Regions from separate parts of the Homo sapiens genome. Here region 2 is linked to region 1. The links are contacts of gene promoters, found by promoter capture Hi-C in human tissues and cell types (Jung and others, 2019). All regions are on one chromosome and are shown on one strand. The core of a region is centred on a gene start or on the middle of the fragment in contact, and the rest is flanking DNA. Distances in the headings are between cores, read along the strand shown.

Region 1 (6,338 bases), core at 2,569-5,068:
CGGGCTCAAGTAATTCTCCAGCAGGTGCCCACCACTACATCCAGCTAATTTTTTGTATTTTTAGTAGAGATGGAGTTTCACCATGTTAGCCAGGCTGGTCTCAAACTCCTGACCTCAAGTGATCTGCCCACCTTGGCCTCCCAAAGTGCTGGGATTAGAGGTGTCAGCCACTGCACCTGGCCATGGCTGACTTTTTAAAAAAGCCCCCTACTTCAGAGACAAATCTAATCTGAAATTCACAAGTTAACACCTTGGGAAGTTAATTAGTGAAGATCCAAAGCTTGGAGGGTTTCTTTTTTTTTTTTTCCTAGCAGCTGCTGAAAACTATTTAATTAGAACATTTGTTTTCAGAAGACTGCTTCAATACTAAATAAACGGTGAGTTTTTTCCCCTCAAGAACAACCAAAATCATAGGACACATTAAGATTCTTTCCAAAATTTTTCAGTGCAGTTGATCACAGTAAATTTAATCATCCAAACTAATACGTTCTAAGTTTACTGAAAATTTGTAGTCTTTTCTGAGTTTTTCTTTAAAATCCATTTTTCCTCCATCCTCAATCCATTTAAGCAGTTCAAGTAACAGGCCAAAACTACCTTCAATTTAGGCCTACTCTATTTCCCAAAACAGTCAAAATGGTAATCCTGGTAATCCTGTCAGTTAAGTAACTTAATTTCATAAACCACTCACTCACCAAGTAATCCAATTTTCCAAATCCCCTCCTCCCCATCCTGCAAAACTCTCCCTCTGACAGATCATTCCAAGCTCTGTTCCTTTTACAGGTATTCATTTGGTAGGCCAAATTGCTTCAAAACTTTTCTTGCAGGTCAGAATTAAGGAGGTTTTCCATACACGTGTTTGAAATCAAAAATAAAATCACAACTTATTCAACAATTAAAATTGTTACAGAACCAACCACTCAACGAAGGTGTGCCTGTGACTTTTTTCTTGTTGTTTTTCAAGTTAAATCAGTGTTCACTCGCTCTGGAAGACTTTCTCTCACATTGTGAAACACCCACTGGAATTCATGGACATTTTTCCAAGAAAAAAAACTAGGCAGTAACAACTCCGGAGATGAAGAGACAGCTCCTAGGAGGTCGGAGGGAAATCCCTTTCTGTCACTCCTAAAATCTAGCTTCCATGAATCCCTTTCAGTCCCTTCTACCACAAATGTCCCACGCTGGCCACCAAATACCCCCAACCTTGCCAGTCAACTTCACAAGCCCAGATCGTGTGACCAGAGTTAGACGATGCCACCTTGCTATTTACCTTTGCGAATGACTGTCTGATCGTGCAGCAACAGGTGCTGGTCGTCGACATTCTGGGGGAGAGAGGACAAAATTCCCTTAAGTTCGGGGGAGCCTAGAGGAGTGCGGGGTGGGGGCAGAAGGCCGTAGGGTGAACAGGTCCGGTCAGGAGCCGCAGCGCCGCTCACCTGCACCTCGTCCATCTGGTGAGGCATGTCGTGGAGCCCCAGGTTCTCGGCCAGGCCCGCGGCATCCAGGGCGTGTGCGTGGGGCAGCAGCAGGTCGGAGCGGCGGTAGGCATCCCTGCGGGCGCTCACCGCGCCCGCCTCCAGCCCGGAGAGGTGGGGCAGTAGGCCGGCCGGGCGCCCGTGGTGCGAGGGCAGCCCCGCTCCCTCCTGGCTCTGGCGGCCGGGCCAGGCCTGCTGCTGGCTGCCTGTGGGCGCCGGCTGGTGCAGGGGGTTGATGGCGGCGGCGTACGCTTCCCCCAGATGCGAGTAGGGGTCGGCCGACTGGGAGTAGGCCAGCTGCTGGTAGGGAGGGGGAAAGTAGGGTGGCGGCTGATATTCGGCGACTCCAGTGTGGGAGAGGGGTGGCGCGGGGCTGTAGAGGTGCTGCCCGGCGGAGGAGAGGTGGGGGACCCGCGGATTCCCATTGCTGCTCCCGTCGTGGCGATCCTGGAGGGAAAAAAAAAAACAGGAGACCCCGTTAGTGCGAAACCCCGCTACTGCGAACTGGCCGGCATCGCCGGGCTACGCAGAGGGCCCCGGGGGACCAACCGCACCCCGCCCGGCGGGGCTTGCCCAGGGTCGGAAGGTACCCGGGGGCAATGCGCCCCGAGGATTTCGTTGTAAGCAAAGAGTGCGGGGAGGGAGGAGAGTCTGGTGAAAGACCTGGGGGAACGAGTTCTCAAAGCCCGGCGGCGAAGGTCTAGGCGCTGCTCCCAAGCCCGAGGCGCTTGGAGGCGCCAAGTCCGAACCCTGGGTCTTGGGCCAGAAAAGTCCGTGGCCGGAGCCCGGGGCGAAGGAGCCAGAGCCCGGGGCGAAGGAGCCGGACGCCCGGTGCAGAGCTATCTCGTGGAGCCCGCCCATGACGCAGGGACTGCTGGAGGTGGCAGCGCGGCAGGCGCGGATAGAGTGCGCGGCGCGGGAAATGCGCACCTCCCCCGCCCCCGGGACCCTCCCTTCCACGCCCTCGGGACAAAGACCTCCGAGCGGGCGGCGCTCGGAAAGCAGGGCCCGCCACCCTGCGCCGCCCTGGGAAGTGAAGAGGGAGCGCGCGCACAGGGCGGCCCTCCCTGCTGGCCGGGCCCAGCCGAGGGGAGTAATAAGTGGGGGCGCCCTGCACTGCCAAGGGCAGTGTTCTCGCACGTCGGGGCGCAGAGGGGGCATGAAGAACCCTGGAAATTGGGCAGCCTTGCCCGCGCACGTTCCCTCGCCCCTGGGCGGCCCGACTCAGTTTCTAAAGGATGCGTCCCCATCTGCCCAGGGGTCTCGGGGCGCCGGGAACCTGGAGGAACATGGCGCTGTCGCCTCCTGGCGGAAGCGCCCGGGCCTGCGGGCAGGGGCAGCCCTCCAGGGCCCGGAGGCGCAGTGAACTCCCGCGAGTCCGTAGCCCGAGCTCCGCGCTCCCGGCGCCCCTGAGCTCGCCTAGCGCTGCCTGCGTCTTCTTCCTCTTCCCGCTCGCCGCCTCCTTCTTCCCTCCCACTCTCCGAAACTCTAGCTCAACCTGTCCGACAGGCTGGAGCACTCGCGAGCTCTTACGGCCCCATCTGGCCTCGGGCACCCCCACCACCACTCCCCAGCCCCCACTTCTTTTGAAAGCCAAACTTCGGTTGTTTTCGTGCTTCCCCGAGGAGGTAGCGGGGCAGGTGACAAGCCGGCCTTGGAGGAGTGTCCGCCAAGGTGTCGCTAGCAGGTAGCCTCATCTGACCCCTTTGGACAGAGACTTCGTGCGTAAAAGCCACGTCTGAGGGTTGCAGACGGGGCACTTTTCCGAGAAAACGGGAAGCAGGGCTGTTTGCCGCTTAGGAAAGCGCCCGGTAAGCTGTGTGGGTGGGATTTGCCATTCTCTTTCCAGGCCTCGTTCCCGAGGGGAGGCTATTTAGGAAAAGGCCCTATACAGGAAAGGGGCCCCGCAGAAATGGACTAAGGGGTGTCCGGAGAAGTGGATCCCGTCCCACCGAGAGGCCAGGGCTCCTATGCCCTCGTCCCCGACCTCGGTCCAGTGGCCCCTGCCTCCCGGACTGTCCTCGGCGGGGCGGGGCTGCACCCCGGAGCCCCAGCTCACCTCGCAGTCCTCTTCGTACTTGACATTATCGGTTATTTTCCACAACATGGCGTCCGGCGTCCCCCAAAACAGTCGCCAGTTAAATCCAGGATCCCCCCAGCCCCCAAGCGGTAAATCCAAAATCGGGGTCACGGTGACCAGGCGTCTGCCGCCGCCCCCGCCGCGCGCGGGCCTTGCTGTCCGGGTCACTGGACACGCATCGGCGGCTCTGCGAGCGTAGATGCTGCCGCCGCGAGTGTCAAGACCGCTCCGCGGACGGGGAAAGCCGCGCCCGAACAGTGTGTCCTGGCGATAGCCGGGGGACCCGAGCGCCTTAATGAGAAGGAAATTATCATAACTCCTCCCCGGGGGCCGGCGCGGAGGCCCAGGCGCCGGGCGGGGCGGCCCCCAGCCAGTCCCAGCCTAGCTCCGCCCCGCACCCGGGCCTGGCGCAGCGCCGAGCCCCACGCTGTGAGGGACGAAGCGCGGAGTCAGTGGGCGGTGCCTCGTTGACAGCCGAAGACCTGCGAGGCCTGGGTCCCCCGACGCGCCTTCCTTCTGTCACCTCCACCGTAAACACACCTGAGATTGGCAGAGCTGGGGGAAGGGATCCAAATACTGAAACCCACCCCTCTTTCGCCTAAACGGCCTTCACTCGTTCCTCCAAAAGACGGATGTCACCTGGAGTTAAGAAACTGCGCATTTGGGGAGCGACTCAACAACCGGGGTCTCCTCATCTCCTAAAAACACATCCCATCCCACCTACACCCCACTGAGGCTTAAGGTCTGAGCTGGGATCATGCAGCTGGAGCCCCAGTGCGCCAGAGACGCCCAGTTCCCTCCGTGGGCACAGCGCGGTCCCGGCCCCCGGGCGGGAGGAGAGAGGAAGGGACTCCTGGGGAGTCTGCCCCAAGGGCCGCAGAGGCAGCAGACGGTCCTACCCGCCCAGGAGTTGCGGACAGCGGCGTCTCGCCGCTGTCGCCCGAAGTGGCATCTCCCGCGGCTGGCTGAGGCCAGGGGGAACCCGCGCGCACTGGACCAGCCCAGCGGCCCGGCCCTGCCCTGCCCTGCGGAACGCCGGCTCTGCAGCTGCCTCTGGCGGGCCGGTCACTCAGAAGCCTCTACTCGCCCTGGGAAAGAAGCGCCGGGCAGGAATAAAACCCGAGCGCCACGGGTAAGGTGAGGGTGAGGAGGTGCAGGAAGTTGGGAGAGAGCCTGCAGAGAGCTCTCGACTGGAGAGGTAGACACCCAGGTCCCACATGTTTAGACAGAAAACGAAACTTCCTTCCACACAAACGCTGCTTCCCTCTCCCCTTCGGTACTTGCCACCCAAACTTGAAAGCAAAGTGCAATACTAATTTTTAAAATTTAAACTAACGAAATTCTTTGGCCCAGTTATTATGCAGCAATTGACTTTCATTGTAAGGGGAACATCGCTAATTCTCGAGGGCGTATTTGTTGGGACGCCCCAACTGGCTCCCTGGGCTGGATTTAAACATTCTGTGGGGATTAGAGGACAAGACTATTTCTATTTGATACTGAATACGATTTTGCAATAATCAATGCCTATCAGTACGGTGTCCGCACCTGCAGTAGACATGACTCTCCCATCCACGGAATGGCGGCATCCACTGCCTCGCTGTTCCTTCTCGGGTTCGTTTGAACTTTAGCATTTATTTAGACCCAGGTGGGCCTAAAAGAAAATAATAATAATAGGCGTCCTCCAAGGGAAACTTTCCCCCGGCCTTAGACAGCAGCCAAATCCCAGGTGATTTTCCGACCGGACGCGGGAACAAAATCTGGAAGTTGAAACCACTGAGACTTTTCGGCCAAGCATATCTGCAGGGCTTTGCACTAAGGAGAACAGTGCATAAAAAGACACACAGGACCCTGACACTTCGGTCCCAAAACAGGCTTCTGGGGGTAAAATAAGTTACCGCAGAAGCAGCGCTCCTGGTATTAGCGGCGGGGGAGGGGGACACCTGCCAGAAGCAGAAATTAGACCCAGGCCCGCAGGCACTCCAGAGCACAGGTCCAGGAAGATGGGTCCTAGACTCGCCAGAGGTGCGGCGCCTCTTTCGGGCGCCTGGGACTCCCTGACGGGTGCCGCTGGGCTGTCCGACATTCTGGGCCTTCTAGCCCTCGGTTTTATTCTCTGACCCGGCCTGAGGTGCAGCTTGAACAAGCTGTCTTGTCTGTGCTGGCAAGTTTACCTCCTGCACGCTGGGGCCCGGAATGGGCAAGAAGGTGCTCATCCCCCATCCCAGGCCCTGGCTCTCCTTTCCCACAGCAACACTAGCCAAAGCTGCCCGGAGGAACCGATATGCCTCCCCGCCTGGGAGCGTCTACGCAGGAGGCGAAGGGAGCCGATGGGCACTGAGGGCTCGCGCAGCACCGTGCCGTGGGCCCAAAGGACCCAGAGGATCCGGAACCGCTTGGCAAAGGCCATTCATTCCCAAGGAGCTTCCCTGGACCCCGGCGCTGCCCTCTTTCCAATGGGTAAGCGTTCGAACTGGAGCGCAACCTCCGCGCCCTCTGTACGGAAGGCAGCTAGAACAAATCCTCTGTCTTCTCGGCACGGGAGACCCTTCCCCAATACGCACATTCTCGGCTTCTGGGCCGGCACCCAGGCACGCGCGCGCCCTTGTGAGGAAGCCTCAACCCTTCCTTGACTTCAACTTTTCTGCTCAGCAGAGCCGGGAACCGAAGGCTCCAGCATCCAAGACAGCCTCCCTCCAACGTCCCCGCCCCTTGCCCACGTGAAGACGCGGACTGCGTGGCCGCGCTCAAGACAGCCGGCACCGGCAGAAGGGGACCCCTCTGGAACC
Region 2 (6,463 bases), core at 1,835-4,334, 220 kb before region 1:
AAAACACAAACAAAAACTTAACTGAGCATGGTGGCACAGGCCTTGGCTCCAGCTACCCTCGGAGGCTGAGATGGGAGGATCGCTTGAGCCCGGGAGGCAGAGGTTGGGGTGAGCTGTGATCATGCCATTGCACTCCAGCCTGGGTGGCAGAGTGAGACCTCGTCTCAAAAACAAAATCAAAAAACAACCCTCTGATACACAGCCTCATCCCAAATCTGCTTACCCATCCACAACTCTTTCCCTAGGATCAATCCTATAGAGACAATTGTTGGGTTGAGAGTAAGCAGGACTTGAAGGCTGTCACTGCAAACCGAACAAGGCTGTAGTGTAGACCCCAGGCAGCCTGGGTTTGTAGTTACCAGATACTTGACCTTGGGCAGGTTACTTCATTGTGCCTTAGTGGTCTTGTCTGTGAAATGGACTTAAAGATAGTTCCTACCTCTTAACGGTGGTTTGGAGGCCTAGCGAAAGAATGTAAGGCCCACAACACAGTGACCAGTGCCCAGCCTGGGTGTCGCTCTGCAGAGAGCCCCCTACCTCCACCTTACCCCCACTTTACACATTCAAAACAGTGAGGATCAAGACGGCCCTTTTCCCTCCGTAGCTGCCACAGCAGGAGTTATTGACCTCGTTCATCTTTGCCAATCAGATCACCAAAACTGATATCACATTTTAAAAACTGGTAATGTACCAAGGGGTCCCCAGCAGGCGTGTGAATAAAGGGGTAATTTGACAGGTGGCAAGGTGAGGTGGGGGGAGTTAGTGCAGGGGCAGCTGTGTAATGGGCAAACGTCCTGTCTGGAGTATCTGTATCTCCTCCAAGTAAATGCCTAAAAAAGCATCATCTGTCAAAAATCCAGAGTCTAACGTGATCACATCCGCCGGTTACATGGTTAAGACACACGGCATGCTATCTCTCAGTCACTGAAGGGCAAGTAGGTTTATGAGCTGATCTGCTCAACTGTACGTTGTAACATTTTTGGCTGCCTATTTTAGTCAAAGCAATGAGTTTTTCTTGGGAGTGTAAAAGTAGACCTATTGAATAAACAAACTGAGATTCTCGCCTCACCTCATATGGCAAAATGTATTCCTGGTGGACCAAAGATTAAAATGTTAAATAAGCAAGCAAACAAATAATGTAAATAGTGAAACTAAAAGGAATAGAAAAATAACTATGAATTAATATTTTATAATCTTGGGGATAAAAAGAGTCTCAAAGCATGGTACTAAGGACTAAAACCATAAAAAACATTTTTAATTACCTAAAAATTAAACTCTGAATAGCAAATAAAAAAGTATAAGCAAGTTGAAAAATAACTAAATTGGGGAAATATGAAAAAGGTGACAAACATATTGTGTAGAGCCTTAATATGTAAAGAGTAATTGCTAATCAATAACAGACAGTCAAATATACTAATAGGATGTAAACAAGCAAATACTTAAACAAGAGATACAAATGACAAAGGTACATGAAAATATAACCACTTCAATTAATTCAATGCCCACCACATTGTAGATGTTCGGTAAAATAGTTGTTTGTATGTGAATCTGTCCTGAGTCACATAATATAAGCTCACTGAGCCCTTATCTGGAGATCCAGAGAGTTAGGACAAGAACAAAGCTCAGCTCTGTTCCCAGGCCTGCAGAAAGTCACTGCGGCAGCCACTGAAGAAGTCCTTGCCACTTACTAGCTGTGTGACTTTGGCAAGTTCCTTAACTTCTCTTTGCCTAAGAAGTTGAGTAAATGAGAATAAACAGGGATAGTAATAATGCCTACCTCATAAGACTGTTGCAAAGATCAGCAAGTTAATACACGTAAAGTACTTAGAACAGCGCCTAGCTCATCAAAAAGACTCAACTGCAAAGTTCAGAAATAAAGCTAATTGGGAAGCAAGGAAACACCCATCCATTCATTGATCCGCTCATTCAACAGTTAGTCAGTGCCTAGCATGTGCCAGGTATTAGCATGGCTGTGATGGATGCTCATGCCACAATAAGACAGAAACTGAAGCAATCACAGTAAATGAGAAATGATCTCTGTTAGGGAAAACACCTTGTTGGTGAAGGAACCCCAGACTGGGTGCCTGACCTAGTCCCTCCTCAGGGGGAAACGTTCGGGAGAAGGAGCTTTTAGAACTGAGCCCTGAAAGTTAAGTAGGTGTTTTCCAAGAGAAGAATGTTCCAGGCATAAAAAGCAGTCAAGCAAACTCTCAGATGTGCAAGAGAATGCAAAACAATTTCAGTCCATGTCTTCTCACAGTGTAGACCTGTCATTAAGGGGGTGGGTTTGGAGTCAGACTGTCCAAAGTACATCCAGGCTCTACCAACTTTCCTGTGTGGTGTGTGTGTATGTGTGTGTGTGACCACAGACTCTTGCTCGGTTTTTCTCTGTCTCAGTATTCTCACCTGTAAAATGGGGATAAAAGTGGTTTGTCTCCTGGGAGTTGAGAGGTTTGCTGATTTCAGACATGTGACACACCTATCACGGGGCTGGCATGTCAGGAAAGCACTGGACAGGCCACTAGGCTGGAAAGATGACCTTTGGAGGACATTTTAAATCAGGTGTAAACTGACTCCTAAAGGCCACTGCTCATAAGTGAGGAATTTCCACAACCAGAAGCTGGCCTTCTCAAATCACCCTCGGGATGATTCTAATTCAAGGTTTCTCAGCTACCTCACTTCACTGTCAACATTTAGAGCCAGATTATTCTTTTTTTTTTTTTTTTTTTTTTTTTTTTTTGAGACAGAGTCTCACTCTTGTTGCCCAGGCTAGAGTTCAATGGCATGATCTTTGCTCACTGCAACCTCTGCCTCCCGGGTTCAAGCAATTCTCCTGTCTCAGCCTCCCGTGTAGCTGAGATTACAGGTGCCTGCCACCAAGCCTGGCTAATTTTTATATTTTCAGTAAAGGCGTGGTTTCGCCATGTTGGCCAGACTAGTCTTGAACTCCTGACCTCAAATGATACACCCACCTCAGCCTCCCAAAGTGCTGGTATAATGGGCGTGAACCACCGTGCCCGGCCAAGCCAGATTATTCTTTAACTTGGGGTAGGCTAGGGGTTGTCCCGGGCACTGTAGGATGTTCAGCAGCATCCCTGGCTTTACCCCAGCTGCCAGTATTGAGCGCACCACCACCACCACCACCACCACCACCAACAACAACGACCCAGTTTTGATCACCAAAACTGTCTCCAGGCATTGCCAAATGCCTCCTGTGGGCAAAACCACCCCATTAGGATCCATTCCTCCAAGCCAGTGCAGGATCTTCTGGGAAAAGCCCAGCTTGGTAGGGTAGTCCCTTCTACATCAGAAAGAAATGACCACAGTGGCGATCGACTGCTCACTGGATGTCCACAGGCCAAATTCAAGCCTCACATGTGTTTTCTTTGACCCAGGAGACATTTAACAATCTCCTTCAATGGGCTGACAATAGATTCTTAAAAATCAAGCCATTTCACATAAAAATCCAGCTTTCTGGCTTCTCTTGAAAAATGAGGATTCCTGGTAACACTGGATCCGCATTCCTCATGCAGCAGCAACGAGGTTGCATCTGCTGCACTCAGGGATACAGGCTTCCTGTTTGCCACAGTCCTCGGCACTCTATACCATATGTGCCCTATATTTGAAGGACCAGAGTCACTTTCTCTCTATCCCATCCCATTTTCACATTTATACAACCTTGCTGGCGGCTGAACATGTTTGAATTGAGATCTCCTGATCTAATGTGCTTGCCTGCACACACACACATTTGCACACATTACATATACACATGCACACAACCATATAAATATATAAACACATACACATGCGCACACATGCACATGAGTATACATATAACAACATGTATACACACATAGGCATACATGCATAGACACATAAATGCACATACACACCTACATATATACGCCTGCACACATGCACACACACATATACATGTGCACACATGCATACATGCATGTACACACATATACACATACACACGTGAACACTACCTACACATATGCACACACATACATATGCACACAAACGAATATACACATACATACATACACACATGCATATGTGCACACACCTATGTGTATAGACATATCTATATGCACACACACATGCATGCACGCAGACTCTCACACCCACGCAGACCCCATGGCTCACCTCCGCCGTCCACTGCAGCCCAGGACACACAGCATCCCTGATGCACACACCTGGATGTCAGGCTCTGACCTTTGAAGTCACGACTCCCACCACGGGGGCCCTTTGCATGTCACGCTGGATTGATGGATGGGACAGCTCAGCTCTCAGAAACTACCGCGTGTGTTTATTATGGCAATGAGTGTGGGCCGGGCCTGCTTCTGGCTTGTGTAAGTGTCAACTGGTGACAACCTGTGCTCTACAGAAGGCAGATGTCAAGGGGCTGGGGGCAGTGGAGTCACCGCCCGCACTGTGGAGACCACCCAGAGGCAGCACTCACACTGGCCCTGGCTTCCCCGGCCTTTGGCGAGAAAACTAAAGGATGGAGAGGGAGACATGGTGCCACCAGGACAGGCCTGCCACAAAGGCTGCAGCCCGTCGTGAGCCAGGCCAGGAGCAGCCAGACATTGCCCCCTGAGAGCTGCTTCTGCCTGGAAGACTCCACCGGCTCCGGGCAATAATTCAGTTCCATTCTCTCCAGAAGATTCCCAGGCCCAGCTCCTGTCCCCCTTGAGGCCACATGCTCAATCAGAAGGACAGTTCCTCACCTCTGCTTGAATAATAGTGACAATGTACTGAGGTCTGACAGGTACCAGGCACTTTCTGTTCACTTCAAATACGTGATCTTGAGTTTTCACCACAACCTATGAAGAAGGTGACTTATTATCCTGATTTTGTTGAAGCTTAAAGTGTTGTCATAACTAAGATTTATTGAACACTTAGTATGTGCCGAGCACAATATTAAGCACTTAGCAGACGTCATGTCAATTCATCTTTTCTACAACATTTTGAAAGATGATCTGTTATTATTCCCACTTTATTTTTTCTACTTATTATTTTGTTTTGTTTTGTTTTTTGAGGCAGAGTCTCACTCCGTCACCCAGGCTGGAGTGTAGTGATGCCATCTCATCTCACTGCAACCTCCCCCTCCCGAGGTCAAGCAACTCTCACGCCTCAGCCTCCTGAGTAGCTGGGATTGCAGACGTGCACCACCACGCCCGGATAATTTTTGTATTTTTAGTAGAGATGGGGTTTCACCATGTTGGCCAGGCTGGTCTCTAACTTCTGGCCTCAAGTGATCCACCTGTCTCAGCCTGCCAAAGTTCTGGGATTACAGGTGTGAGCTACGGCACTCAGCCTTATTCCCACTTTATAGTCAAAGAAATTGAGCAATGATCTCAGATCGTCTCTCTTTTTGTTGTCCTTTGTTTTGTTTTGTTTTGTTTTGTTGAGACAGGGCCTCACTCTATCACCCAGGCTGGAGTGCAATGGTGTGATCATGGCTCATTGCAGCCTCAGACTCCTGGGGTTAAGGAATCCTCCTGCCTCAGCCTCCCAAATAGCTGGGACAACTGGTGTGCAACAACATGTCCAGCTAATTTTTAAAATTCTTGTAGAGACCTGGGTTGCCCAGGTTGGTCTCGAACTCCTGGCCTTAAGCAATCCTCCCACCTTGGCCTCTCAAAGTGCTGGGATTACAGGTGTGAGCCACTGCACCCGACCAGATGATCTCTTTATTTTTATCTCTCCCTCATTTCCCCTTCTTTTCTTCCTCCTCTTCCTTATTCTCTTCCTCCTCCTCTTCCTTATTCTCTTCCTCCTCCTCCTCCTCTTTCTCTTCCTCATCCTCTTCCCCATTACCATTATGAAGGCTGAGACTTATGGAGCCTTCCATATAACAAGCACTGTGTCATATAGAAGACGGTGCCTGATACCTGACTGGCACCATCTCAGTTAATCCTCCCAACAGCCCTGTGAGGCAGACACTCTTGTCACCTAATTCTTAGATGAAGGAACCAAGGCTCAGCATCACACTTGGAAACCCCCATTCCAGCTGGGACTCAGGGGTCAGTGGAGACTGTGTGTGTCACTAGCCTCAGGAGCTGTGGGGTTCCCAACAAGCATGATCAACAGAGCATCCTCTGGACCCAGTCTAACCCCAGGCACCTCCTCAACAAACGCCCAAAGACCAGGAGCACCTAGGAAGAGTGCAGAGGGGTGCTGAAGCAGGCATCAGGCCTCCAGGAGGCATCTTCACTGCAACTTAGACCAGGAGGATTTCAGGAGCCTCTCCTGGGAAATCACCAGGGGTCTCCTTAAAAGGTGCTAAACCTTACATTGCAACTTCTAGAGTCTGTGAATTTGGCCTTGGAGAAGGGCCATGGTTGCAGAGAGACCAGATACCAAGCACTCTAGAGAAAGAAATAGAAACAACAAAAAACACAATGACATTTGTTAGTTTAACACCATGGGGCATTTTTCAGGTTCCAGAGCG

Evidence for each region. Contacts are between HindIII fragments. The study calls those that stand out against the background at their distance.
Region 2: a contact is called between a fragment that was not itself captured here and the fragment with the promoter of TFAP2C in region 1, in 1 of the 25 tissues and cell types used here (H1 embryonic stem cells).

Annotation. Positions count from the first base shown.
Region 1 is chr20:56,626,786-56,633,123 of GRCh38, reverse strand. TFAP2C (transcription factor AP-2 gamma) reads right to left here and starts at 3,818. Exons shown (of 7, transcript NM_003222.4): 1 at 3,532-3,818; 2 at 1,434-1,919; 3 at 1,268-1,319. The coding sequence starts at 3,579. RefSeq lists silencers at 3,497-3,791, 3,848-3,907 and an enhancer at 5,271-6,031. The HindIII fragment of the contact is 13,903 bases long and covers 1-6,338 here.
Region 2 is chr20:56,846,713-56,853,175 of GRCh38, reverse strand. No RefSeq gene overlaps it. Among named protein-coding and RNA genes, the nearest start is that of TFAP2C, 220 kb to the right of the region's middle. RefSeq lists a silencer at 4,462-4,607. The HindIII fragment of the contact is 7,669 bases long and covers 1-6,463 here.